Regions from separate parts of the Homo sapiens genome. Here region 1 is linked to region 2. The links are contacts of gene promoters, found by promoter capture Hi-C in human tissues and cell types (Jung and others, 2019). All regions are on one chromosome and are shown on one strand. Each heading gives the region's core, a stretch centred on a gene start or on the middle of the fragment in contact. The rest is flanking DNA. Distances are from core to core; before and after follow the strand shown.

Region 1 (2,700 bases), core at 50-2,549, 77 kb after region 2:
GGCAGGAGAATTGCTTGAGCCCAGGAGGTGGAGGTTGCCGTGAGCTGTGATTGTGCCACTGCACTCCAGCCTGGCTAACAGAGTGAGACTGTCTCAAAAAAAAAAAAGGAAAAGCTAGGAACAGACCCAGTTTCATATGGAAAATAAGTATGAAGGTGGTACCTCAAATCACTGGGGAAAATGAACTATGTAATAAATTGATTGGAGTAACTGGTTAAGTGTATAGAAAAGATAAAATTGGATCAAGTTCTCATATTACACTAGGACAAATTCTAAAGGGATTAGAGATTTAATTGTGAAAATAAAATAAGGACTAACTGAATTCTGGTTCTTAATGATACTAATGCTATGGCACAAAATAAGGGAAAATGTAAAGTTTGATTACTTAAAACATTATAAACAAAGCAAATGGCAAACTAGGGAAAAGTATTTGTAAATCGTATCAAAAATGGCTAATATCCCAAATAAAAAAGCCTCTAAAAATAGAGAAGAAAAAAGATAAACATCACTATAGAAAAATTGACTAGAAATATGAACGGTTCATGGAGAAAGTAACATAGCTCTTAATTATCTGAAAAGAAGCTCTGTCTTGCTCTTACTGAAGTACTGATTGAAACTGCACTGAGAAATATTTTTGCCTCAGATTCAGACTGCCAGAATTCCAAGTTTGTTGAAATCTTCTGATAGCAAGGCTATAAGGAAAACAGTTACTCTCATAAATTACTGAGGCAATGCAGAATGGTAATACTCCTATGGAGGAGAGAGAGTTGATTTTTGGCAATATCTAATATCGACATTTAGCCTTTGACCTGGAAATCCCACTTCTAGGAATCTCCTCAAGATACACTGGTAAGAGTACAAAAAGACATATGTACAAGTCTATTTCCTATAGCACTATTTGTAATACCTAGCACTATTTGTAATATCTAAAGACTGTAAACAACGCAGGTGCCCACAAAAGGAAAATGGTTTGACAAACTTACGAACATCCTTTTAAAGGAGTACTAGACAGGTACAAAAAGGAATGAAGAATGTATATATTACTATGGAGTGAATCTTCAGGGTATATGACTAAGTGAAAAAATGCAAGGTGAAGTAGTATGTAACATATGGTACAGTTTACTTAAGAGAGAAATACAGATGTATATACACATTACCTAAAGCAAAATGAGGACCCTACTGGGCTGCCATCCCAGCTGGACTGCTGCTGTGGAGCTCAGCATCAAGTACTTCCAGGAGAAGCTTCAGCAGGACCTAGAGGCAGAGCATGGTAGAGGTAGAGGATACAGCCCTCATACCACCGTGCTGTATGTCCATCTTTCAAGTCCTGGTGGTGCCCGCAGAGTTTGAAGGGAAGCCACTGCTTCAGAGATACCAGGTGGTAAATGCATGCCTAGTGGAAGTGTGCTCCTCTGCATCTATGCCTTTGAGCAGAAAGCCTTTGAGTCCCAATTAGTGGGCCCATGAGTGGCCAAAATGAGGGACTGGGACCTGTATAGCCGTTAAACTATAAATCAGGGCCAAAAAGGAAAGATAAATTATAAGTTTAAAGAAAATGGGCTAGGCATGGTGACTTACACCTCTATTCCCAAAGGAAGCTGAGGCAGAAGGATCATTTGAGGTCAGGAGTTCGAGGTTACAGTGAGCTACAATCCTGCCACCGCACTTATATGTGCAACAGAGCAAGACCTTGTCTCAAAAAAAAAAAAAAATTAACTTTTTTTTTTTCAAGACTGAGTCTCTCTCTGTTGCCCAGGCTGGAGTGCAATAGCACAACCTCGGCTCACTGCAACCCCCACTTCCTGGGTTTAAGTGATTCTCCTGCTTCAGCCTCCTGAGTAGCTGGGACTACAGGGATGCACCGCCACACCCAGCTAATTTTCATATTTTTAGTAGAGATGGGGTTTTATCATGTTGGCCAGGCTGGTCTTGAACTCTGACCTCAAATGATCCACCCGCCTTGGCCTCCCAAAGTGCTGGGATTACAGGTGTGAGCCACCACACCCGGCTAGATCTTAACTGTTTTTAGTAAACATGTTGGTGATGATGTTGGATATTGTTATTTCAAAATGATTGTCTGTATTCTGCATAAAATAAATGAATACTTTGCTTAATGATTGAGAACTGGCATTTTGGACACGGGAGATGGAAATACAGATATAAGATTAATAAAGTTAAATATAAAAAATATAAGCATGGGGGCCGGGCGCGGTGGCTCACGCCTGTAATCCCAGCACTTTGGGAGGCCAAGGCGGGTGGATCACGAGGTCCGGAGATCGAGACCATCCTGGCTAACACGGTGAAACCCCGTCTCTGCTAAAAAAAAAAAAACACAAAAAATTAGCCGGGTGTGGTGGCGGGAGCCTGTAATCCCAGCTACTCCGGAGGTTGAGGCGGGAGAATGGCGTGAACCTGGGAGGTGGAGCTTGCAGTGAGCCGAGATCGTGCCACTTCACTCCAGTCTGGGCGACAGAGCAAGACTCCGTCTCAAAAAAAAAAAAAAATATATATATATGTGTGTGTGTGTGTATGTATATATATGTGTATATATATGTATATATGTGTGTGTATATATATGTATATATGTATGTATATGTGTATATATGTATATATGTATATATATGTGTATATATGTATATATATGCATGAATTCATTACATTTTTTAGCATTTGAAAATTTTTAATATTTTCTAGCTCTGT
Region 2 (2,700 bases), core at 73-2,572:
AATTTTGAAACTTTCTGATTTTTTTTTCTATTATCTTGGCACCATATTTGGCCAAATTCTTACAAACTGGCTAAGGTGAACAAGTGAATTGTTTCATAAAGGATGAAGTGAGGCGTGGGCCCTCACACATTCAAGGGCAGCCCCAAGGTAACCACAGGTAGACCCATGAGCTGCAACGACCATGCTGACCTATGAATCATGGAAATATAGTTGCCACAATTAATGCCTAAAACAAAATTTTAATATAAATTGCTAAAATGAGTCATTAATCTAAGCAGCATGATACAATTGAAAGAGCACAAATGAAATCTGTTAAATCTGTTAAGGGAACGGGAGAAAGCCCAGGAACACATTTATAGTGGTTCATACGGTTTTATGACAGTCACTTAAATAAGGTTTTGGAAACGAAAATGTTGTTAATTATTGCAGGGCGCGGTGGCTCATGCCTGTAATCCCGGCACTTTGGGAGGCCGAGGCGGGCAGATCACGTGGTCAGGAATTCGAGACCAGCCTGGCCAACACAGTGAAACCCCGTCTCTACTAAAAATACAAAAATTAGCCCGGCATGGTGTCCCGCGCCTGTAGTCCCAGCTACTGAGGAGGCTGAGGCAGGAGAATCGCTTGAACCCGGAAGGCGAAGGTTGTGGTGAGCCGGGATCGCACCACTGCACTCCAGCCTGGGCAACAGAGCGAAATCCGTCAAAAAAAAAAAAAAAAAAAAAAGAAAGAAAAGAACAAAAACCTAGTTTATTACTGCTGTTTCCTTATTACCAGGTAGCTTCACATCCTCATCAGTTCAGCAAGTCAAAACTGCATTCTTAGAAAAAATTCTGGAAGTTGATAACTGAATGCAAATATAAAATGACCTGCCCAAGGTCACACAGTTAATCGGGACCGTATCCTGGTGTCGTGATTCCCATCGCAGAGCTCTCCCTTTTCCAGAAACTGGGTGGAGAGAGTGGCATGTGGTGTGGGCGTGGCACGGGTCGGCTCGGCAGAGTTCGCCCCGGGTGGAAAGGAATCTGCTCAGCCCCTTCAACGCCAGGCAGCCGCATGTGCTGCTGGGAAGGACCTTGGGCGCCCCAGTGTCTCATCCCCGGATGTCCGCGCGCCGCCACCTCCCCGCTCTGCACCCTCCGCCATCTCCCCTCTCTGCACCGTCCGCCATCTCCCCGCGCCCCGCGTGCGTGGAATCTACGTTACCTTTTCCAAGGTTCCGCTCATCCTTTGCTGCTGCGCGGCCTCTAGCTGTGCAAACCGAAGACCGGACCCTGCAGCCGCGTTCCCAGGGCGTCTGAAAACACTGAAGGAACGGCCTTGACCAGGTGCAGCAGCAATATCCCACCGAGACTCACTCAACTTCCACATCATTTTAGTTCCGGAAGCTTCTGAAATTCAGAGTCTAGAAATTCTCCTGCTTTCCACCCTCACTCAGGTTGTCACATTCACTGCTGTTTCTCCAGAAAGAATTAATTACCATCTCTGTGTTACCCCAGTACTTAGCACACAATTCTAATTTTTCGCTTACAATATTATACACTAATGATTTGTTACCACCTCTTCTCTGTATTTGAAAGTTCTTAAAAGACTGAGATCCTGTCTGATTAATTCCTTTCAGCGTCTAGCACAGATCTGACTTTTTTGTTTGTTTGAGACGGAGTCTCGCTCTGTTGCGCAGGCTGGAGTGTAGTGGCACGATCTCAGCTCACTGCCACCTCCGCCTCTCGGGTTCAAGCAATTCTGTCTCCAAGTAGCTGGGATTACAGGTGCCCGCCACCACGCCCGCCTAATTTTTATATTTTTACTAGAGATGAGGTTTCTCCATGTTTGTCAGGCTGGTCTTGAACTCCCGACCTCAGGTGATCCGCCCGCCTCGGCCTCCTAAAGTGCTGGGATTACAAGCGTGAGCCACCAGGCCCAGCCAATCATCTCTTAAATTGAGTTTAGAAGTCAGATTTCCACGTCCTGTGCTAGATGCTGGAATAAATTAGTCAGGATCTCAGTCCTTGAGGAACTCAATCAAAATAATAGCAAAAAATAATTAGTATCTAGTAACAAATAATTAGTATCTAGTATGGTAAGTGAAATACCAGAATTGTGTGCAAAGTACTGAGGTAACACAGATACGACAATTAATTATGCTTGGAAATATAATGGACCAGGCATACCTCCTCCAGTACAGTGATTGATTATTGCCTAATAAATGCTATTGGGGTTTTAGAAGTGAAATTTTAAATAAGAAAAAAAAAATCAATCAAATGCTAGTATGTGCCAGGTCGGTTCTTTATGGGTGTATGGGTTCATTTAGTCTTTCCAATAACCCTATGAGGCTGAGGATCATTATACCCATTTCACAGATGAGGAACAGAGACAGGAAGAAGGTACCTAGTTAACATAATGTTATATAAGTGGTGAGCTGTTTCATTTCCGTGCCTGTGCTTCATCTATTTTATGGGACTGTGACTATAGGTTTGCAAAAGGGCAGGTTGGCAGCCAGAGAGTTTCTTTCCTTGTCTAGTCCAGGTAAATACAATCTAATAAGATACATGGCCGGGTGCGGTGGCTCATGCCTGTAATCCCAGCACTTTGGGAGGCCAAGGCAGGCGGATCACAAGGTCGGGAGTTTGAGACCAGCCTGACCAAAACTGTGAAACTCCGTCTCTACTAAAAATACAAAAATTAGCTGGGCGTAGTGGTGCA

What was found. The method cuts DNA at HindIII sites, captures the fragments that hold promoters and counts their contacts. A contact is called where the count stands out against the background at its distance.
Region 1: a fragment that was not itself captured here is called in contact with the fragment with the promoter of MRPL48 in region 2 in 3 of the 25 tissues and cell types used here (IMR-90 fibroblasts, mesenchymal stem cells and spleen).

Annotation. Positions count from the first base shown.
Region 1 is chr11:73,709,766-73,712,465 of GRCh38, reverse strand. The region is part of intron 5 of RAB6A (RAB6A, member RAS oncogene family); the gene reads left to right. Among named protein-coding and RNA genes, the nearest start is that of RAB6A, 50 kb to the left of the region's middle. The HindIII fragment of the contact is 7,101 bases long and covers 1-2,700 here.
Region 2 is chr11:73,786,496-73,789,195 of GRCh38, reverse strand. It overlaps MRPL48 (mitochondrial ribosomal protein L48), which reads right to left and starts at 1,322. Exons shown (of 8, transcript NM_016055.6): 1 at 1,204-1,322. The coding sequence starts at 1,224. RefSeq lists enhancers at 1,109-1,188, 1,329-1,388. The HindIII fragment of the contact is 15,089 bases long and covers 1-2,700 here.